Linked DNA regions of Homo sapiens: all the other regions are linked to region 1. Evidence: promoter capture Hi-C in 16 types of primary human blood cells and fetal thymus (Javierre and others, 2016). All regions are on one chromosome and are shown on one strand. Each heading gives the region's core, a stretch centred on a gene start or on the middle of the fragment in contact. The rest is flanking DNA. Distances are from core to core; before and after follow the strand shown.

Region 1 (4,579 bases), core at 174-2,673:
ACTCAGCACACTGAAACCATTTCTGAGACCCAAATCAGGAAGCACTGGAAAGCTGATCCATCTCTCCATTCTGTCTCCAACTTCACTTACTCTCCTGTCTACCTAATGCTTCTGAGGAAGCGCTGTCTTCTGAATGATAAACCAACCTGCGCTAAGTTCTCAGGGATCGCCAAGCATTAATGATTCTGATAAAAGGTTTTTCTCGAGAGCCAATTTAATGGATGACAGAAACTGGATCTCAAACCGACAGAGTAACCAGACTACACAGAAGGGAAGAATGATTAGGCAGGTGAAATAGCGGATCGTCAGCTTAATCAAAAAACCAAACCTCCTAGCCCCTCAAAGCAAAGCTCACACCGAGAATGTAACATTTTGCCAGGTGCAGTATCTTCCTTGCTATTTCTTGCTCCTGGCTTTCCTTGTAACTGGGGGGCTGTTACATCCAAAATATTTCTCCTGTAACTAAATCAACTTTCGCAGAAAGCACGACGAATCGACCATTATCTGTTGACAGCGTGAACACTCAGTCCCAATAGTTTTAAATTCTTTATAAGATGACACGACTCGATTCCGATTTTTCAACAAAAATCTACAAGGACATCTTCGCCAAGGTTTAAGACACGCGGCGTTCTAAACACTTCTTGAAAAAGTGTAAGTGAAAGAAAATGCGCGGTAAAATTTCGCAATTACCGACACAGGGCAACCTGCGTGGAAACGTTTCTTTCTCCCCATCCTTCACCGCTCTCGGGAACGGAAAGAAAGCTGGAAGGACGAGCAGCGACCAGGCTGCCCGGTCGGGGGAGGCTGGCGGCGGCGTCCTCGGCCCACACCCCCGCGCCGGGCGCCCTCGCCGCGGAGTTGGCCTATTTACGCCCAGCCCGCACCTGCCTTCTCGCGTCCCGGCGGCGGCAAGACAGGCGCCACGCCCGAGGCACACACGGCTCCCCCTGGCAGGTCGACCAGGGTGCGAGGCCAACACGGTCCCGGGGTCTCCCCGGCAGCTCCTCTCCCGCGCCGGCCGAACTTGCCCCCGCGCCCGGGAGCCGGCCCCTCCTCCCAGGCCCTCCTTACCTGGTCATGGCCCAAAGCGAAGTCCGCGGCGGTGACGCCGGCAAGTCCAACCCGAATGAGTGTGGGTGCGACAGGTGAGTCCCTGCCCCGAGCCCGCCGGGTCCCCGGCCCCAGGAAAATCTGGTCGGCTCGCCCTCCCCGCGGGGGAGTGACCATCCGCTCCCAAGAGCGGGAACCCCGACCGCCGCTCGCTCCCGTCTTGCACCAACACCAACTACATCCCGGGAGCGGCGCCCATCTGCGCCCGCCCCGGGAGAGCCAGGAGCGCAACAAGCAGCGGCCCCGCTCGCCGAACGCCTGAACCGCTAGGGTCTTTAGCACTCCGCCACCGAGGGGAACTTGGCGCGTTTTCCTCAGTCTCAGGACCCCCGTGTTTTAGCCTCCGCCCGCGCCAGCGCTGCGATTGAACGTGGCGTCCTTTGAAATTGCCGGTTCCAGTCTCCACGCTGCAGAGACACGAAAGGCAGGAGCCGTCTCGCGACGGCCACTCGCCCCTGGCACGCACGGGCTCCGGAGCCAGCTGGGACTGTAGTTCCCCAAAAGCCTAACGGGTTCCACAGTTTCAAACAACGCAGGCACAGAGCCGGGCAGCTCGTGCGGGTCCTCGCTGAGGGCGCGCGCGAGGTGCTAGCGGCCTGGCTGGCGGGCTCGAGCCTCACACCCTTTTTTTAACCATTCGTGCGCGCGAGTTGAGGGAAAAGCGTACGGGTCGGGAGACGGGACAGAGAGCAGACGGGATGGGCCACCACCTCGAGAAGGAGCCCAAATTCACCAATCCATGATGAACAATCCCCAAAACCGCGCCTCCCACCGCCCGGGGGAAGCCAATCAGAAGTACCTAGACCAAAGCCAATTAGATGGGCGGGAGCAGCAAGCCCATCTAATAGCAAAAAAGAAGAAAGGTGGGCTCCAGCCAATCATTGTTCGACATACGGAGTGTTCCTCAGGCGCGGTGCCCCTCCTTCCGCTCTCATTGGCGCTCGAGTGCGCGCTTTCGCTGCCGACTGTTAAAATCTTGTTTGGCGTTTTGTTAATCCTCGACGGTGGGACGCCGCGGAGGGTGCGGCTTCCGGAGCGAGGCCCTCGCGGTAAGCCCCGCCTCCGTTCGTGCGTACGCGCCCGGGCGGGGTTACCAAGAGAGCAGCTTCGGAAAATGGCTGCCCGGCTGGACGCCGCCGCGCTTGGGCTTTCAGTTCGGAGTCGCGGCCACACTAGGCCTAGGGCCATCCAATGAGACAAGGCGCTGCCACGGATAACAATACATGCTCAGGCGAATGCTGTAGAGCTGAGGCCCGGTCCTCAGCCCCTGCTCGCCTCATTTTCGCCTGTTTACCTCTTCCCTTTCTCGGCCGCAGGAGGAAACGAAAGAACAGTTTCAGGCCCAGCTCCGGCCGCGGGAGCTTCCCAGGGTTCCCGCGCGAGCCCTCCCAAAGGGTTCAGGAGCGGCAGGCAGGCCTCATCTGGTTGTGTGCTTCCTTTTGTGTTTGTGTGCCTGCTTTGGTGAGGTGACCTCAGCTCAAGTGCTGCAGTTAAGCAGGATACGTTCAGCCCAAATCCATTTAATCAAGTATTTTTAAGGTGCCTACTATGTGCCAGGCATTTTTCAAGGCGCGAGGGATGTAAAGGCATTCCCTGTCATAAAGGAGCATTACATTCTGGAGAGGGAGATACAAGTGACGCTAAGATAAGTGATAGATACGATAGCCTGGAAAGACCTCTTTGAGTTGACATTTGAGCAGAGCTGAATGAAAAAGCTTGGAGGAATCTGAGGGAAGAATGGTGCGGGCAGAGAGAACAGCAAGTTACAAACGTCCTGAAGCTTAATGTGGTTGGTGTTTTGAAAAGAAGCAAGGAGGCCAGGGCGCTTAGAGCGCAGTCAATTTGGGAAATAAGATGGGAGGAGATGAGATGAGTGAGAAAGGCAGGACCCTGGGTAAGCCGAGTAAGGAGATGGGAGTCGTTAGATGATTCTGAGCTGGGGAGTGGCGGGATTACACGTTGACCTTCAAGAGTACAAGCAGGGTCGGGCGTGGTGGCTCACGCTTGTAATCCCAGCACGTTGGGAGGCCAAGGCGGGCTGATCTCTTGAGGTCGGGAATTCGAGACCAGCCTGACCAACATGGAGAAACCCCGTCCCTACTAAAAATACAAAATTAGCCGGGCGTGGTGGCGCAGGCCTGTAATCCCAGCTACTCCGGAGGCTGAGGCAGGAGAATCGCTTGAACCCAGGAGGCGGAGGTTGCGGTGAGCCGAGATCGCCTCACTGCACTCCAGCCTGGGCAACCAGAGCAAAACTCTGTCTCAAAAAAAGAAAAGTACCAGCGGAAAGGTCAGCCAAGATGCTGGTTCAATAAGCCAAGGAATAAATTATGGTAGTCTGGAATAAGATGGTGGGATGTTGAAAACTGGTAGGGTTCAAGATATATTTTGAGCACAGCCAACGAGCTCTACTGATGGATTGGCTGTATGATAATGTAAGAAAAAACAGGTCGGGTAGCCAGGGCCGGTGGACCGCTTGAACCCAGGAGTTCAAGATCAGCCTGGGCAACATGGCAAGACCCATCGCTACAAAAAACTCCAAAAATTGGCCGTGCGTGGTGGCACGTGCCTGTAGTCCCAGCCACTCGGGAGGATGAGGGAGGAGGATCCCCTGGCTGCAGTGAGCCGAGATGCACCACTGCACTCCAGCCTGGGCAACAGTGTGAGGCCCTGCCCTCCACCCTCCCACCCGAAAAAAGAAAAAAAAACAAAGAGTAACGATTTTTTTTTTAACCTGAGCAACTCAGTGTTGGTCCTTGCTAAAATGGGGGTCTTAGTAGGCTCAATGGGAAGGATCATCGTTCTTAGAATATTAAGATTGAGGTGTTTAACGTACAAACAGATGTTGAACCAGCAGATCACGAAATACACAAGGACAAGATTAGAAAATGTATATAGGTCAGTCTTAGCCATTGTGCACCACAGAGTGGCAGTGTCTCATTTTCTAGTACTAGCATAATTATTGCTACTTTCAAACTCTACGAGAACAGATAAGCAATTCTACTTTCCCATATTCCTGAGATCCTATTGTCTGCAGCCACTATTCTTCCTGTACACAATGTGTGGTATCAGTTAAGATTCATTTGCGGAAAATAGAATCCATTTTAGCTAGTATAAACACAAAGATATTGAATACTTGGGAGGGTTGATTAAATAGGCTCTAGATTAGTTTTTCAGGAATGAGTCCCAAAGTCTTCCCAGAACCAGGCCACCAAGGAAGCAATGACTCTTCTATGATCAGGAAATGACGTCTCTGAATCACACTGCTGCTGCCATGCCTAGGAAACCACCATCAGAAAGCTGCGTGCACCGCTGACCCTAGAACCACACTATACCCACTATGATCTGCACCAGTGCCATGCATATCCTACGTCCCGTCTGTCAAGGCCCACAGGACAAGTGGCTAGACACTGAGGTTTCTGCTAATGCTGCTTCAGAAAAATCAAACACCTCCACAACTGTGCTTGTC
Region 2 (4,645 bases), core at 660-3,159, 2.6 Mb before region 1:
GCCTCAGCCTCCCGAGTAGCTGGGACTACAGGCAGCCGCTACCATGCCCGGCTAATTTTTTTTTTTGTATTTTCAGTAGAGACGGGGTTTCACCATGTTAGCCAGGATGGTCTCGATCTCCTGACCTCGTGATCCGCCCACCTCGGCCTCCCAAAGTGCTGGGATTACAGGCGTGAGCCACCGCGCCCGGCCGAATATATTTATATATACATAATATAGTGTCAGGCCGGGTGCGGTGGCTCACGCCTGTGATCCCAGCACTTTGGGAGGCCAAGGCAGGCAGATTCACGAGGTCAGGAGATCAAGACTATCCTGGCTAACACGGTGAAACCCCGTCTCTACTAAAAATACAAACAATTAGCTGGGTGTGGTGGTGGACGCCTATAGTCCCAGCTACTCGGGAGGCTGAGGCAGGAGAATGGCGTGAACCCAGGAGGCAGAGCTTGCAGTGAGCCAAGATCGCGCCACTGCACTCCAGCCTGGCTGACAGAGCGAGACTCCATCTCAAAAAAAAAAAAAAAAAAAAAAAAAAAATATATATATATATATATAAACACACATATATATACTGAGTGTCTTGCCCAAATCCTGTGTCAATCACATACTTCTTGAGGAAGCTAGAAAGATATGTGTATATATCAATCTCTCAATAGACTAAGCTCAGTATCTCTTTCACTATTGCATCCCCTGTAGGTAATCAATAAACATTTGATTCTTAGATGATGAGTTCCATAAGGGCAAAGTCTGTTATCTTCATCATCTTTGTTTCTTTAGCACCCCACCCAGGGCTGGGAATAAGTTTCTCAGAAAATAGTTCTTGATTAAAGTGGTTTAATTAATTAACAACCAGAAGTGCTTCCTATTAACTACATTTCTCCAACATTACTTCAAAGGTACAACCTGGCATATTTTTCACATGAACGCAAAAGAAGCTTGCCTCTTATAATGGATCAGAAAATTGTTTCTTAAAGCTGAGGAATTATACTGACTAGATGGAGTTTTAAAGATAGTATTCCTCATTTATGTGAAAATGTGAGATTTTTTTTCTTGAATTTTCCTGCTTCCACAAGCTTTATCATTGTGTCGATACTAGTAAATCTTTAAAAAAAACCCAATCTTAATTAAATACAGCTCAGGTAGATCATCATAAACTGGTACAAAGTGGTCTTCTCTTTCGGTTACCAGTATCAGTCTAGTTCCTTGTATCTGTATCTCTTCCAAAGCTGAAGTGTGAACTTTTTGAGGCCAGGAACTATTCTGATTTATCTTCATAGTCACAGAACTTTCATTAATAGTAGGTTTATTGAATTTCCAAGGTCAGGCAGCCAAAAGGGAAAGAATAATTCTGGGAAGTGCATGGGGTAAATAAAATGCAGTTTAAAAATTATTATAATGACCCTTTATTGAAGATTATTTTCCGAGTATCATGCTAGGTGCTTTACATATGTCTTAATACATTTTGATTACACTTCAATTCTAAAAACTCTTGAGCTAGCTGTTATAATGCTCATATTATGGGTAAAGAAACTAAGAATCGCAACTGATAAATAACTTGCCCAGACTGACACAGTTAACAAATTGGCAGAGCTGAGATTAGTACCAGACTCCAAAGTCTGTGCTCTCACCATGACTCCAGGAATTGTCATTTTCAAGTACATATTGGAGAGAGGAAGACTGGTGAGGTGCTTATAAGAACTTCCTTTAATCAGCCACTACATGGTACCTCAGAAGACTAAAGTTTGATTTTTTAAAAATGTGTGAGTGCACATGTGTGTAAAACAAGAGGTATGGAGGTATTTATTATAACTATATGTTTTGAGCCATGTTCTTTTTTTTTCTGTTCAGTTTTGTATTCAAAAGAACAAATGACTTTACATATATAATTAGACTTCATCTCCACCTTGACTGCAAACTGATGATATACTTAAATTACTATCACACTGTTGTTATCAAGGATTAAACATATGGGTTGTAGATGTTACAATCATTCATACCAATTTCATTTACCCCATCCAGAGGAATACATGTAGATCATGTTCAGATATGCAATGGAACCTTATCAGTCCAGATGTATAAGAACTGATCTGTGACAATCCAGATCCTCCTCTGAGCTGTAATTGTATACGGCAGTTATTCTGTTTTTTGTTTGTTTTGTTGTCGTTGTTGTTTTTGGTAAACGTGTACTTTTTGCCTGATGCTAACATCTTTTCAACAGTCCTCTTTTGCCTGCTCAACCGCCAGTCTCCCAGTTCAGTGATCCCAGGAAGAATCAGAGTCTTGTCTGCCCATGATGATTTGCTTCCAGTCTGCACCAGGTTAAATCACACCTTAAACTTTATCAAACTTTTGGAGTCTAAAAGCAAAAGCAACTCACAAAGTGCAAAGGTTGGCATAACTAATTTATTCATATGAATCAGAAAGAATTTAAAGAAGAGGAACCAAATATGGTAAAACGAGGGGCGGGGCGGGGCGAGGGGGGAAGCAGTTGATTTAAAAAATTGAGAAAAGCAAAACATGTTTTGCCTGGCTTTGTAACTAAAGAAGACTGCCAAAAATGGTCTGCAGAGGTGTAAGAATCAAAAAGCATCTCCAGTGTTCTACCTTCACCAGAAACATGCAAGGAATTTCCTAGGATGGAATTATGGAAAAGATCCTCTTCAGGCCTTCATTTGCTCATTCATTGCTAGTCATGGTGCTAAATATGGGAGATATAAAATGAGTATGGCATGGCCCTGGCCTCAAAGCTTACCCTAGTGGGAGATACAGCAACTGTGCCGTACGCTGATCTGTGAAAGGCACCAGAAAATAAATGTAAAAACCATACAGTGGATGCACAAAGGGGAGAGTGGTCAACTCTGTGAGTCTAATAAAAATAATTCACAATAAGCACATAGCGATGTTCCGTGAGTCCCGTCCCCACCCCATCCTCTTATAGCCAACCCCTAAGAGAAACGACAGGTGAGCAGGGCGCAATCCAAGCTGGGCTCTAATTAAATGTGTGCCCTAGAGCAACTCCTAGCACTACTCAGAGTCTCCGTTTCTCTCCCTGTAAAAGCCAGGAACCCTGCTCAACTATGAAGTCCATTTCTGCTCTGAATTAAGAAATAGAGGAAAAAAAAAAAAACCAGAAAGGAAACTCACGAAAAACAAAAGTGAAAGTGCCTGAAGGGAACCCAGTAGTAAACAAGAGTACAAAATTCTATATCTCACCGGAAAACAGTGGCAGAGTTCCCAAATATTTTTTTTTCAGCAACTGTGAACTTCGGAAAGAATGAAATGTCTATCACTCCCTTTGAATGTGAATAAGATCAGTGTAACACGAATCCACCTTGCTCTATGCAACTGTCTTCTGAAACAATCCTCTGACCCTGAACACCACTTATTTAAATAAGCGGTTCTTAAATCAATCAATCCGTAGTGAATGGTCCATCCCCACAAAACCAATCCCCATTGAAGACCACACCAAGTTGTGCCCCACTTTGGGAAAAGGGGGAAAGCGGGGGTAGAGAAAGAGGGGAAGGATTGGAACCAACATTAGATTGTGCCTGGTGTTGCCACGCGGTTGTCATAAACAACGGCGTCGAAGCAAACTGTTTTAAAACTTAGAAAATACGGCGGCCTTTAAACTCTATTATGTCCCTGCTCATGGCAATAGTGGGACTTCTCTGAACGTAGCCCACAACGGTACAGCCGCCCGGGAGGGAAAGCGAGCTCTGGGGCGGACAGGCGAGTGAAGGCAGCCAGAGGAGGGGAGCAGGCTGACAGCTCCCCCAGCTTCCGCGGCGCGTGGGGGACCAGGACGGGCGACCGCCACAATCAGAGGGTGCGAGCTGGACCCACCGGGGCCACTGGTCTCCAGGGTGGGAGGATGGCTGCTGCCTGTCCGCTGCCGGAGCCTCCTTTCTCCCAGCAGAGGAGGGAGAGCGCGCGCACGTACACACACTCTCATACACACACGCACGCACACACATCCTTCCCTTAGAGTTGTGTCTCGTCTCCCTTTTGTTTTTCTCCCTTCCCGGTCATGAGACCCGGAAGTTTTTTTTTTTTTTTTTTTTAATCCCGTCTCTCTCCCTTTTCCAACCCCCCCGCCATCTATCACATGGCAGAGATAGAATAAAAACAGAAAAATGGCGACGGTCACGTTGTGGCGAGCCTTGCTGCGTCATTAGATAATCCTCATGCAAATAGCGGGAAGAACAAAGGAAGGGGAGCCCGGGACCCCCGGGGGCGCAGGTGGGTGTGGGGGCGGCGGCCGGGCGCGGGGGCGGCGGGGCGCGCGGGGCCGAGCGCCCGCGGGAGGCGGGCTGCGTGGGGCGTGCGGCCGCGCGAGGCTCGGGGCGCAGAGTGTGGACGTCCGAGTGCGCGCCCGTGCGCCGCCGTGGAGCGCTGGCTGCTGCGCTCCCGGCCCCGTCTCGCGGCGCGTCGGAGCCGGCCTGGGGACGCGGGAAGCCGTGGGGCGCACAGAGCGGCTCCGGCGAGGCTGGCCGCGGCGCACACGCACACGCAGCCGTGGGGCTCGGCCCGCTAGGCATCCGCACTGGGGTCTGGGGGCGGGCCAGGCGGCGCCGGGGGCCGAGGGCGCGCCACTGCCCAGCGCCTAGCGCCTGCCTTCAGCCTCCTCCGGGGACCGCACGCAGTTCGC
Region 3 (4,335 bases), core at 301-2,800, 3.0 Mb before region 1:
AGTCATTGGATTAGGGCCCACCTTAAACCAGTTATCATTTTAATTTGATTATATCTGCAAAGATACTACTTCCAAATAAGATCACATTCACAGGTACCAGGGAATTAGAGCTTGAACACATCTTTTTGGAGGACAAAATCCAACCCACCATCTGTTCTCCCACCGCATCTGAGCCCAACATAAACACTGACATAGTAATATAATTATTTCCAGCTCTGTCACCCACCAATAACTTCTCATTTATCTTTGTATCCTAAGTCTCTGGCATACAGTAGTTCCTCAATAAAAGTTGAACAATCTGTAAAATGCTTCCTTCCCTTAGTCCGTTTCCATTTCAGACTTCCTTTTTTTTCACTACATCACAATTTTCTAACACATTCACACATAAACGTGATCATGATTTGGTAGTTTCTGATCATGTGTAGTACTGAGACACTACTTTTCATCTGTTTTCGGCATTGGCTTCAAATGGATATATAACACAGTCGACACTCTCCAAGTAAACCATGTTTACTAAACTGATATTAAGTATAAAAGTCAGCCAGAAATAACGATAAAATGTCTGCTGCTAACAGCTCACATACTCGGATAAATTCATAGTGAACAGAGGCGTACTCGTATATATACTATCTACATGTTTATAGCAGATGTTAACTGGGGATATCTTTGGGTGCAAATTTCAAGGATGATATAAAAGCCAATATAAAAACAAGTCATGCTACTCTATTCGACAGATTAGAAATGGAATGTTTTCCTACCAAAATACAGGAAGCCTTGCAAAAAACCTTTTCCGTCTCGCATTGCTCTGAAGCCATACAGATAAGGGACGCGGTGTTTTTACCAACTGCCCCATGCAAAAAACACATACTACACACACACTGGTTTCTTCTCTGTCCATAAACAGAGAAAACACCGAAGAAAGCAGTATTAAAATTACACGTAATCTACTCTCCACGACTGCGAGAAACACCGTCTTTCTGGGTGCTTTCCATTGACACCCGCCCGCGGTCAACTCTGCCCAGTTGGAAAAATCATTAGGAAAAAGAGGATTAAGTTTCCCAATGCTAAGAACGCTGGAGACAAAGGGTCCTTTGTGGCAAATAGGAAACTGCGGAGGGGCAGAAAACCAGAAGAAAGGCGTTAGGGTGGCGTCAAGAAGTGGAAACCTTGTTTAAAAACTCAGGAGAGGTGGAGGGCGCCGCTCTCGCCGAGGGCTCAGGCTGGGGAGGGGTCTGGTGCCGCCACTGGAGAGCAGGAAGGCCAGCGGCCTTGCAAAAAGGGCCAAGGCTCCCCCGAAACGCCGCTCCACCCACACCCCAAGGGACGAAGGGAGCGGTCGATCGCCTCCCGAACCGGAGAGGCGGGAAGGGTGGTGAGGCCGTTCCCCAACGGCGCGCGGAAGGCGCAGCCCCAGGCTTGACCGGAACGGAGGTGGCAACCCCACCACACGACAAGCGAGCCGGGGACCGCGATGTACCTTTAACGCCCGCCATGTCTCCCGAACTGGGGCCGCGGCTGCTTCCGGCTTCCTGCCACGGCCCGGGCAGCCTGCCCAAGCCAGACCGGGAGTCGCCCCGCGGATCCCGAGCCCGCCCCGGCCACGCAGAGCCCCGCCCCCGCCGGTGCAGAACTCCGACCTTAGCTCGCAAACGCGGCGCCTGCTGCTCCAGACCCCGCCCCCACCACTCACAACCCCGCCCCCGCCGGTGCAGAACCCCGCCCCCAGCTCGCAGAGGCCGCGCCTGATAGTTCAGACCCGGCCTCGCTACTCAGAGCCCCGCCCCTGACAGTACAGAGCTCCTCCCCTACCTCGCGGAGGCAGCGCCTGCGGCTCCAGACCTCGCTACCGCTACTCGAAGCCCCGCCCCAGACAATGCAGAGCTCCTCCCCTAGCTCGCGGAGGCCTCCCCTGCTGGTCCCGCCCCAGCCCTCACCGGCCCAGAATTCCGCCCCCAACTCTCAGAGGCCGTCCCTGCTGGTCCCGACCCCGCCCCCGCCACCCAGAACTCCGCTCCTGCCAGTCTAGAACTCCGCCCCCAGCTCGCAGAGTCCATCTCCAGCCCTAAGGTCCCACCTGGTCCCACAGAGCTTTCCCAGAGTAACCCCAACCCAGTGCCCTGGGCCCTCCTCCTAGATCCTGAGCCCTCCAAGTAATCCTCAAGCCCGTTCAATGTGGGTTGGGACCTTGGCTCCGCCCCGACCGCGGGCCCAGAGTCTCTCCCCGGCCTCTCAGAACGCAGTGCACGCAGCGGGGGATCCTCCCTGAGCCTTCCTGAGAACGGAGATGTAGAAAGTGGGGAGAGGCAGGAGAGGGAAGGAGGGGAAAAGTTGCAATCGATGGGAGAGGGACACCGACTCACTAACCAGTGTTATGTTCCCTGAGCTCCCAAGTGCGTGCTAGTGTGCGAGTGTGTGCCTGTCTGCCTTCACATGACTGTGGCAGAGGAGAGGCGGGGTACCAGAGGACAGGCCCCTTAGGAAACACTCCTCATTAAGAACTTGATATTTGCATAGGTTTGCTTTGCTTAATAGCAACGCTTTACTGAAACTAGCGGGGTTTTTCTTTACTCCCTGGTTTATTTATAGAGACGAAGACCATATAAGCTTTTGTGTCCGAAGCTTTCATGAACCTTAAAAAAAAAAATAAAAAAAAAAAGCTATTATTTTTGTGCCTTGGGGCCTCAAAGTTTGCAGGTAACCAAGGCCAGTTTTTAGATCTCTGAGAGCCATTGTGTACTTATCTTACAGGAATGGAGAGTTCTGTTTTGGCAAAAGCAATCTAGAAGATCATTGAAACAGTCTGGTCCAAATGCTTCAACTTACATTTAAGGAAAGAGGTGCAGAAAGGATAGGACTTGCCTGTCACACAGCTCTTTGGAGGAGGTTGGATTCTGGGCCACTTCCCCTCATTCTAGCTGAGATCCACTCTACCTGATGGTGCCGTCCCTCTTCTCTTGCTTTTTCTCCGTTTTCAAAAGGACTGAAAGACAAAGGAATCTGTGGAAACCTAGCTTCCCCTGGCTACCTGAGAAGTATAAATTCTCACCACCATCATGTTTCATGATCCTTGCTCAGTTTACTTTTTCAAAATTGCACATTGAGCATGTTACTGTTTCAAGAAATGTCTATTTGTTGATTCAGTGGAGTATTTTTCTAGCTGTCAGTTTATTTTTCTAGCTCCTCTCATTTCTCCTCATAGACGGATGGCACACTCACTGAAAACAGCATTGTAATACCTGACTCACTGCTGATGCTTGGAGATCCAATACTACAGTACAGCACTTTTTACTTTGGAGCCTTCAATCTACTCAAGAGCATTGGCAGTGTATGCCACTTTGGTTTAAGGATTATTTTGAGCTGAAGGCAATTAGGAAGAAGCAAATAGGTACACGGTACTAGAAAAGCACTCTGCCCTCCCTCTATTTGCCAAAAAGCAGGATATAAGTTTACGAAGGTGTACCTCCTTCCTGCTCTACCAGGAAAGACAAAGATTAATCACCAGAGACAATTTTAGACCCCTGTCAGCCTGGAGACAACACAAGAAAAATCTACATGATAAACCTTAGTATTTGGCCTTCATCTGCAACTAGTCTCCCATATATTTGTTTTCCGACAATTTGCTGCCCCTAGAGACTCAAGATCCTTTATCTTGTCATTTCTTTAAAAATTTATTGTTCCTTGGCTAATATGCTGTATAAACCCAAGTTCTAACCAAATCTTTGAGTTGCTTATCTCTGAGTATTCCCATGTTACCTATATGAACAACGCACGTGTTGATAAACTTGCTTTACTTTTGTTCATCTGTCTTTGGCCAGTCTAATGCACAAGGACCCAGCCGGAGAACCTAAGATAGGTAGAGAAAAAGATTCTTCCTCCCCTACAAGAGCTTGTTTCCCTATCATATTATTTCTAATACCTATTAGAGCACTCAAGGGAACCTGCGTATCAGACAAGCCCTGGAAGTCTGTGGTTTTTAGCTTTCTTCGTGTAGTGCTAAGCTACTCTCATGGGGAAGATATTCTATGGGGTTAAATTTCCCTCATTCCCCCTTCCATTTCCAACCACCCATTCTGTCTCCAGAGAGCCTAAATAGGGTTTGCGGGAGCCTTCCACATCAGCCTGACTCCAGTCCCACAGAAGATAAGTGATTTTAGAGAAAACTGACAACACATCAGAAGCAGAGTTTGGTTTGAGCACCCTAGGCTCAGGAGTAAGATATTGGAAGGTGGTATGAAAGAAAAAGTTGAGGTGTTTGCCCCAGGGTAATGTCTGGAATTTAAAAAATGCTGGGACAGTGTTTGTCTTGAACAAGTTTTCTGCCCACGCCAGCTGTCC
Region 4 (4,657 bases), core at 1,048-3,547, 2.6 Mb before region 1:
CCCAGGCTGGAGTGCCCAGACTGGAGTGTTGCCCAGGCTGGAGTGTCGCCCAGGCTGGAGTGCAGTGGCGCGATCTCAGCTCACTGCAAGCTCTGCCTCCCGGGTTCACGCCATTCTCCTGCCTCAGCCTCCCAAGTAGCTGGAACTACAGGCACCCACCACCACACCCGGCTAAGTTTTTTGTATTTTTAGTAGAGATGGGATTTCATCGTGTTAGCCAGGATGGTCTCGATCTCCTGACCTCGTGATCCGCCCGCCTCGGCCTCCCAAAGGTGCTGGGATTACAGGCATGAGCCACTGCGCCCAGCCTGATTTTGTATTTTTAGTAGGGGCGGGGTTTCACCGTGTTGGTCAGGCTGGTCTTGAACTGCCGACCTCAGGTGATCCACCTGCCTCGGCCTCCCAAAGTGCTGGGATTACAGGTGTGAGCCACCATGCCCGGCCTAGTCATCATTTGTAACCACAAGAATTCTTCATGAAGCATGAACGAGTTAGGTAAGGGAGGCACCAAAAGTCCATTTTGTATTTTTCTTTCATATTTAAGACATGATGAGTGTAAGGATTCCCACTGGAGGAGATTGCCAAGTACAAGAATGTGTGCCTGAGCTGGGTGTGGTGGCTCACATCTGTGATCCCAGTACTCTGGGAGACCAAAGTGGTCAAGACCAGCCTGAGCAACAAAGTGAGACTGTCTCTACCAAAAAAAAAAAAAAAAAAAAAATAGCCAGGCGTGGTGGTGCATGCTTGTAGTCCCAGCTCTTCCGGAGGCTGAGGCAGGATTGCGTGAGCCCAGGAGTTTGATGCTGCAGTGAGCTAGGATGGTGCCACTGCACTCCAGCCTGGGTAACAGCCAGACCCTGTCTCTTAATAAACAAATAAGCAAGCAGGTATGGAACATTCTCAGCTGGGTTCTTTAAGCTGTCTGACAAGGTTTCGGGTTGTAATACATGCTTCTAATGTAAATATGTTAAAATGCACATAATTGAAATGGAGTAAAGTAAGCTGATTATACGTTGCTTTGTGCATTTAGACTATTACTGTATTTTATTTTCCATGAGATTATGAGGAGATTGATGATGTTAAAAGGTGAGAAGAAATAGAGAACCATTTCGATTTAGTCTGTAGAAAATGTATTTTCACTTTTTTGCTACTATCTTTGTAAATGAAATTGCAGAAAAATTACTTAGACTCCCATTGGTTTTTTTCAATTTGAAAATGAGTATCTTCGAACCAGGAATATCTTGGGGTCCACTGGGGGCTAGCTGTCTAGGGCACTTTGCTGGGAAGACTTCTGAGACCACATCTGGGCTCTGCAGGAAGGAGTGCTGTAACCACCTTTCTGGGTCTACCTGTGATCAACCCGGGTGTGCTGTGGACATCAGACTGAGGAGGAGTGCTACATTTGCTGATACCTTAGTATGCAGTATTGGTAGTGTAGAAGCTTAGATCCTCTGGAATGGCAGAAATTCCCAGATTTATATTGATAGGGACTAGATTTCTGGAAAACCATATCACTGGGAATATAGACACCCTTTTTTATGGAGAGGGAATTATGGATTTTTAATTTTAAAAGTCTAGTGTAATATATAGTGTATATTGAGACATGAATCTTTCCACTTATCATCATTCACTAATTTCTGTTAAAAAAAAAAAAACCTGACATACCTATCAGGTCTCAAGCTATTCTAATAGCACTAGTCTAATAGCATAAAATTTGCTACTGTTAAATAAATGCTTATCCCCTGCATAATTTACAGGTAGAATTTTAAGTAATTGGATCAAATAGCTAGAAGAGGCTTTCCCTTTCTCCTTTTATTTCCTTAATTGTATTTGCTTGAGATGAGTCAATATTTGTTGAGCGCCTGTGTACCAAAGCACTCATTTCATCCTCATTGAAATCCTCAAAGAGTAGAAGAGTTCTCCATGTTTCCTAATTGAAGAACCTGAGGAGGCTCTCAGGCTCCCAGTGGGTCCCTAAGCCACACAGCTAGTCAGTGATGAAGCAGGCATTTGAGTCCAGAAACAATGTAAGAAGTTAATATTATGTTGATTAGTAGGTGAGGCTTCGAAACAGAGTTAGACCCAGCATGTGTAAAATTGCTTTAAAATTTGCACCATACACTGCCTCCCCTGTCCACTGTTGCCTTTTTCTGATGCCTTCTCTACTCTTCAGCTGGAGTTACCTCTGTAAAATGAAAGTTTGATCATGCCATCACTTAAAAACCCTCTGGTTTAAAACACTCTAGTGGCTTCTCCTCTTCAGCTGCCCCATGATGCCCTGGGCAGTGTGGTCCCACCTACTCCTCAGGTCCCATCTCTTGTACCCAGTTGACTGGCCTGGCCTTTGTCAGGGAATCAAGTCCTTTCTGTGTCAGATGCATTTCCTTCTGCCTGGGACACCCTTACCATTCAGTTCACCTTACCTCTTATCCTTCAGTTTCTGGCTAAGTACTGATTCCTCAGAGACCTTTTCCTGACATCCTGCCTAGGTCTGATCTCATGGCACTTTGTGCTTTTCCTTCAGAGCACTTGTCACAGTTGAATCACGTGTGTTGCGGGTGCATATTTTTAATGTCTCGTTAGATGGCGAATTCTGTGAAACAAGAAACATGGCTCTACCCATTGTTGTGTTTGCAGTGTCTGGCATAAGCCTGGCATGGAGTTCACAGTAGAAAACTAGTGTACTATGAGATGTGAGTGGAATGTTTCCTGTTTGCTAAGTATGGGTGAGAAGAACCCACAGCTAAAAACAAGGTGTTCAAAATCCCCACTTTCTGTGGTCAGAGATCTGCATCTCTGCGGCATTTTCCTGCAGAGCTTTTTCAAAAGGTGTCATTTCAGCAGAACCAATTCTCACATTGCCCCCACCCTTCACCCCCATAAAAAGATGACTGGAGGAGGGGGAGATGTCACCTTTTGTGGGAACTTCTCTCAGCGAAGCGGAGCATGCGAATTTGACATCATGATTGTCTGAAAATTGGTAAGCCACTATCCCAGAAAGAGCTCCCTATGCCCAGGGCTTGCAATGCTAAGAGAAGGAGGCAGGAGAGAGACAGGGAGCGACACTACATTTGGTGGGGTGAGGATATGAGGTTCCTTGGACATCATGGCCTCCAGTGAATATGTGGGTGATGGCTTGGAACTTAAGCTTTTTTGCTAGTGCCCCACAAAAGAGTACCCTCCACAACCCATCTGTGGACCACAGCAGTGCCTCTCAACAAACATGTGCCCCAAGGAGTGAGTTAGAATATGGATGGTATCCCAAAGGAAGGACCCGTGGCCAGTCAGAAAGCTCATGCCCACCAAGGTGGGTGGTTCTTCTAGGGACCAACCTCTTTTGAAGTTCGTGAAGAAGTGAGTTTTTGTGTAGTCTTTTTGTTGTTGTTTGGGTTGTGTTTTTTGTCATTGTTGTTTGTTTGAGACAGGATCTCACTCTGTTACCCAGGCTGGAGTGCAGGGCCACGATCATGGCTCACTGCAGCCTCAAACTTCTGGGCTCAAAGGATCCTCCTGCCTCAGCCTCCTGAGTATCTGGGACTACAGGTGTGCACTACCTGGCCGGCTGATTTTTAAATTTTTCTGTAGAGACAGGATCTCTCTTTGTTGCTCAGGCTGGTCTCAAACACCTGGCTCCAGGAGATATTCCCGCCTCAGCCTCCCAAAGTACTGGGATTACAGGCATGAGCCACCATGCCAGGCCTCGCCCTTACTCCTTTTGAAGTCCAGGTGGTTACAGCTGCCCCTGGAAGGGGCAGATTGTGGATGCAAGCCCCCTAACAGCAGAAAAAGGCTATTGACAGTGAATGAGGGACTTCCAATTCTAGAAATAGATCCCGTTGCCTTAGGGGTGGATAGTGGACAAGGTACTAACACCAATAAATGCCTCAAAGATTTCATTTGCTTTTGAACTTGCAGAAATGGGAGTGAAGTGATTTCTGATTTTTCCCTTGGGAAAGCAGAAAGAAACCCTTCCTCGTACAGCTGCTCCCATGAGAAAAAGTTCAACAGAAAACATATTAAATGCCCATTTCCCAAGACTCTCAATCAGAGTGGTAAGAAGCAAAGGGACGACGCTACAGAGGTGTCTGGGAAACTCAGGCTGATTAAAGGTAGCCTCCTTGACTTGCAGGCTCTGTGAAGGAAAGCACACCTCATAAATCCTTTTGGACTGTTTTTTGGCTAAACTCTCAGATTTATACGAAGAACTATTTTAAATGAATCAGCGTGTCTTTGTTTGCATCTTCTGAGATTCTGAAGACTGCAGCCAAGGAGCTAGTAAGGCTGAGAAATGGATTGAGCATTTAATCGGTTGAATACTTCCTTATGTTTTCCTCGTGTGTTCTCATAACAAGCGACCTTAGTCCAACTCCTAGTAACACATGATTGTGGAATGTGCCCTCCTGAGAAATACTGCCTTATTTTTTCATCCTGAGCACATTGAAAGTCTCTGAAAATGCAGATGAGCTTGTTTGGACAATGGTAATAATAATATATGCTAGCGATACCTGCTGTGTGTCTGGTATTTTACATGTTACAACTGAGTGTCACAACAGCCCTGGTCAAATGCAGGGAAAATGAAGACCTAGAAAAACTAGGTCACTTACCTGATGTCACTCAGTTCAAGCCCAGGTTTCTGCATTTCTAAATTTTCCACAGA
Region 5 (4,511 bases), core at 1,456-3,955, 2.6 Mb after region 1:
TGGGGAGAAAGGATGAGAAAGAGATTTTATGTTCTGAGTTGGTCTGTAAGTAAATAGATAAATGATAAGAGGAGAAAATCCCTAGCTAGGCACTTTAAATAGAACTGCAGTAGGCCCTACTTGTAAAGAAGATATCTGTGTCTTACACATACAAATGATGAAATGAAGAAACTGAGAATTCTAAGGCTTTCCTGCTGATTTCTAGGTAACCCTGAATGTCTCAGAATGGATATCAGCTAGAAGACTCTGACCTGGACAGATGCAGATCTAGACATACAGTTCCTGCAGTCATGCTAGTAGAGAGATCATGTCAGCAGCAAAGAGTGCAATTGGACGTCAGCAGCAAAGCATTCATTCCTGAAGGAAATTATTGAACCCACACACAGAGAATTCTGACAGCATTGTTTAGGTAAAGCTTCCCCTTCCACAGACCCCCAAACACATGTCCTGCAAATGTTGAAGGTAGGAAGGAAGGATGAAGGCATAAAAGAAGGGAGGGAAGAAAGAGGGAGAAAGGAAAGAACTGCAACATAGGCTCAATCTCAGCAACCGAGACAGAGGTAGCCAGAATGATATGAGATCCACCATAGGGATTAGTTTGCTTTTCTGGATGATGCCCACAAGAGTGGTCTGCAATCAAATAGGCAAAGAATTATAGCAAATTGCAAACTCAGGCTACCTCAAGTCAATATCAAAGTTCAGAAGAAGCTGAATGCAGCAGCTGTGACAATTTTCAGAATCTGGGAGGTACTTTGGAATAATAGTTTCCAGGCCCCGAGGGAGGAGATTTATATGCCCGAGGCAGAGTCACAGAAAGAGAGACAGGAATGAAAACTGACGTTTTACAACACCTCCTTGTTCTTAGACCTGTAAACACAGTGGGCACAAATACCTAAGGTGTATTTGAGCTCCATCAAATACCATACTAGGGTTTAGGGAAGCAAGACCAATCCCAGACATTATGGGTAAGATTTAGCTTTCTGTTAATGGAACAACCTTGACCATAATTGACTTGGATCTGAATGTTTAGGTAATGGGACTGGGAAGATAGGGACAAATATCCTATGGATATTTTCAGCCAGCATAACTATTAAGGTAGAGACTGGAGAAAGGTGATCAAGGATGTGGATTCCTTCCCACTGTGTGTAAAAATGAATATTCATTTATTTTTCACACTGGCTTGAAACTCACTCTTGCTATGAAATTAATATTAATTTAGGAACTGTATGAGATACTGGAAATTTTACTTCTAGGGCTGTTGAAGACTTGAGTTACATGGATTTTATATCACTTAATGAAACTGCCTTTTAATGCATTTTACTTCCAAGAGATGTTATTGCCAACCTGTTGGGCTGCCCAAAGAGAGATTACTCTAAGGATTCAATGGAGAAATTGAAGCCAAGTGCAAGTTCAAATTAAGGGAGACGACATCTCTGTCACTAGAGAATGCGCATCCATAGAGCAAGAGATTTTAAAATTGTACCATAAACAGAAAAAAAAAATCTTAACTTCGAGGACTTTTGTTATTGCAGCCTGTTGTAAATTGGATTTTCCAGGAAGTAGACCCTGAGATGGAGATTAGCATGTTGGAGGGTTATTAAGAAATGCTGTTGGGAATAACAGCTGTGAGAGAGGAGGGAAGGAAGAAGTAGTGGGCAGAGGGAGAAAGCAGGTTGTGGTGCAGGCTCAATGAAAGTCTTGACTTATCCCTGGGGAGTGCTGAAGCTGGAATGGTCCTTCCAAGTTGTTCCAAGTTTGAATGAGGGGAGTTGGTCTGTACGCTTCCATGTTGACAAATCATTCATTGCATGTGGGCTGCCCTAGAGAGGTGACGTGGCAGCCTAGGCAATTCACAAAGAAGGCTGATGGCTGATGGCTGTCTGCTGAAAGCACTCCAAGATGCTGGAAATATCCAGGCAGCACACCACAGTATACTCTGTAAGGCAGTAGCACCCACAGTAGCTTTGGGTGGGGATGAGGGTGCCATCACTCAGAATGGGAAAGCATGGTGTTTAAGTGTGGACAAGTAGGACTGAAAGTGTGGCAATAGGTATCATAACCACAAAGTTAAAATAGTCACAGAGGAAGAATGTTGGCATCTTTGGTTCTTGGATTAGAAGCCTCCAAAATGAGGAAGGATTTTAGCCATAGTTATAATTTCACTTAGGGGCTTAGTGTCAAATAACTAAATGAATGACACCTTGGAGGATTTAAGACAGGTTCCTGGGGAAACAAAAGTTACAAAAAAGATAAATCACAATACAGAGTAATCTTATCAATTATGTTTTAAACTTACAGGGAAGAGTGTTTAGCTTGCCATTTATTAAGTAAAAATAAATGTAACCATTTGATTTATTAAGCATATATAAACTCACCCCAAAGCTCTAAATCAAACATAATCGCACATAATTTATCTTGTCCTTAATAACTCCGATGAGAAAAAATTTAAATAGCAAGGTAAATGTAGCATTTATTTTCAAATACCTAAAAACAAGTAAAAATAGGCATTTAGTAAAAATGTACCGATAATGTAACCAATCTAAAGTATCATTTAAACGTATAAATCATGGAGTTTATATCTCAGTTTATCTGAGTGAATCACAAGACCTGTCATCATTTTACACTCTGTTGGAAGAGATGATCCATGGTTCTCATTCAGTTGGTGACCTATTTTTTATGTACAAAAATCCTTCTAATCCATGTAAGCAGGTTTTTAAAACAAAGACCAAACAGTGACACATAGTGAGTGTCTAATCATTTAATCCACAGATGTTTGTCTCTAAAAAGCAAGAATTACAATATAACAAAGGGTACCTCCTATTGGTGTTTGTTTGTTTGTTTTTGAGACGAGGTCTCACTGTGTCACCCTTGAGTGGAGTGGCATGATCCTGGCTCACTGCAGCTTCAAACTCCTGGGCTGAAGTGATCCCCCCCACCTCTCTCTCCTGAGTAGCTGGGACAACGGGCACGTGCCACCATGTTCAGCTAATTTTTTCATTTCTTGTAGCGATGCGGTCTTCTTATGTTGTCCAGGCTGATCTGAAACTCCTGGGCTCAAGCAATCCTCCTGCTTCAGCCTCCCAAGTGGTGGGATTACAGGTATGAGCCACCATGCCTGGCTGCTCCTATTGTTTTCAGGTGTGTTGAAAATTAATATTTTAAAAATTAAAATTATTTAATTACATTATATGTATGGAAAATAGATACAATCACATTCACAAGACTGGTTTCACAGGTTTAATAAGAACATAATGTTTAAGGATGATAGAGATCACTATGTTAGAAATAGTGATTATTTTTTATTACCGCTTGAGAAAAATACATTTGAAACTGTCGTTACAAAATGTGGCATTCTGAAGCCTCTACATGTATATCAGTTGAAAATACATTGAAGTGATATTTGCCTAAGGAGCTAGAATATCTTGCTTTCCCTTCATGTGTTAGATAAGTATAGCCTATATATAATATAATACATCTTAAAACGTCAAAATGTTAGAGGGAAGAAGTTTATCCGATCATTTATGGACACTAGAAAAGGGGGCTTCTTAATCATAAGCATTAACAAATTGGGCTATAAGAACAAAGAACAAAAATGTTCCGGAATGCCAGGAAAGATGTGCAAAGGGTTTACTAAACGCTCTTGCAGAAAATTCCTTGAAGCTCATGGCTAGTAAAATGTTTGAAACGATTTAACCCAGTAAATGAGTACTTCCTAATGTGATTTGGGAATATTCCCCAAAGATCTTTAAAACAAAACGACCAAGAAATAATGAAAAACAAAACTATTGGGTAGGACCTAGCCTTATACAGAAAAGAGGGAGCTGCACATTTCATTAAAGGATTTGCCACTATAAAAAGATTTCCTTCCCAGCGCTTTGGGAGGCAGAGGCGGGTGGATCACCTGAGGTCAGGAGTTCAAGACCAGCCCGACCAACATGGAGAAACCCCATCTCTACTAAAAATACAAAATTAGCCAGGCATGGTGGCACATGCCTGTAATCCCAGCTACTCGGGAGGCCAAGGCAGGAGAATCGCTTGAACCTGGGAGACAGAACTTGTGGTGAGCCGAGATCATGCCATTGCACTCCAGCCTGGGCAACAAGAGCAAAACTCCGTCTGAAAGAAGAAAAAAAAAAAGTTTCCTGGCCAAGCGCGGTGGCTCACGCCTGTAATCCCAGCACTTTGGAAGGCCAAGGCAGGAGGATCATGAGGTCAAGAGATCGAGACCATCCTGGCCTGGTGAAACCCCGTCTCTACATCTCTACTAAAAATACAAAAATTAGCCAGGCGTGGTGCCGCTGGCCTGTAGTCCCAGCTACTCGGGAGGCTGAGGCATGAGAATCGCTTGAACCCGGGAGGCGGAGGTTGCAGTGAGCCAAGATCATGCCACTGCACTCCAGCCTGGCAACAGAGCGAGACTCCATCTCAAAAAAAAAAAAAAAAAGTTTTCTATGAACACAATTGGTGACTGAGAACATATCCAATCATAAAGCTATAAAAAAAAAAACAAT

The links. The method cuts DNA at HindIII sites, captures the fragments that hold promoters and counts their contacts. A CHiCAGO score of 5 or more calls a contact.
Region 2: a fragment that was not itself captured here is called in contact with the fragment with the promoter of USP1 in region 1 in 2 of 17 cell types (activated CD4 T cells and naive CD4 T cells); the score reaches 7.5 in activated CD4 T cells.
Region 3: a contact is called between the fragment with the promoter of LEPR here and the fragment with the promoter of USP1 in region 1, in 5 of 17 cell types (total CD8 T cells, naive CD4 T cells, activated CD4 T cells and 2 more). The highest score is 7.2, in total CD8 T cells.
Region 4: a contact is called between a fragment that was not itself captured here and the fragment with the promoter of USP1 in region 1, in 1 of 17 cell types (neutrophils). The highest score is 5.1, in neutrophils.
Region 5: a contact is called between a fragment that was not itself captured here and the fragment with the promoter of USP1 in region 1, in 1 of 17 cell types (activated CD4 T cells). The highest score is 6.2, in activated CD4 T cells.

What each region holds. Positions count from the first base shown.
Region 1 is chr1:62,433,893-62,438,471 of GRCh38, reverse strand. It overlaps USP1 (ubiquitin specific peptidase 1), which reads right to left and starts at 1,423. Exons shown (of 9, transcript NM_003368.5): 1 at 1,072-1,423. RefSeq lists a silencer at 767-826 and enhancers at 1,527-1,596, 1,421-2,188, 2,157-2,506, 2,189-2,956. The HindIII fragment of the contact is 3,360 bases long and covers 1-2,827 here.
Region 2 is chr1:65,067,195-65,071,839 of GRCh38, reverse strand. It overlaps a transcript of JAK1 not described here. Among named protein-coding and RNA genes, the nearest start is that of MIR101-1, 11 kb to the right of the region's middle. RefSeq lists a silencer at 4,366-4,645. The HindIII fragment of the contact is 1,674 bases long and covers 1,073-2,746 here.
Region 3 is chr1:65,417,883-65,422,217 of GRCh38, reverse strand. It overlaps LEPR (leptin receptor), which reads right to left and starts at 1,550. Exons shown (of 20, transcript NM_002303.6): 1 at 1,478-1,550. It overlaps LEPROT (leptin receptor overlapping transcript), which reads right to left and starts at 1,550. Exons shown (of 4, transcript NM_017526.5): 1 at 1,478-1,550. The coding sequence starts at 1,493. RefSeq lists enhancers at 1,047-1,096, 1,170-1,703, 1,704-2,236 and silencers at 1,467-1,966, 1,987-2,056. The HindIII fragment of the contact is 9,332 bases long and covers 1-2,606 here.
Region 4 is chr1:65,048,183-65,052,839 of GRCh38, reverse strand. It overlaps a transcript of JAK1 not described here. Among named protein-coding and RNA genes, the nearest start is that of MIR3671, 7.3 kb to the left of the region's middle. The HindIII fragment of the contact is 1,707 bases long and covers 1,444-3,150 here.
Region 5 is chr1:59,806,125-59,810,635 of GRCh38, reverse strand. LOC105378758 (a long non-coding RNA gene) reads left to right here. Exons shown (of 5, transcript XR_947426.3): 2 at 206-409; 3 at 3,008-3,138. Among named protein-coding and RNA genes, the nearest start is that of HOOK1, 6.6 kb to the left of the region's middle. The HindIII fragment of the contact is 4,576 bases long and covers 418-4,511 here.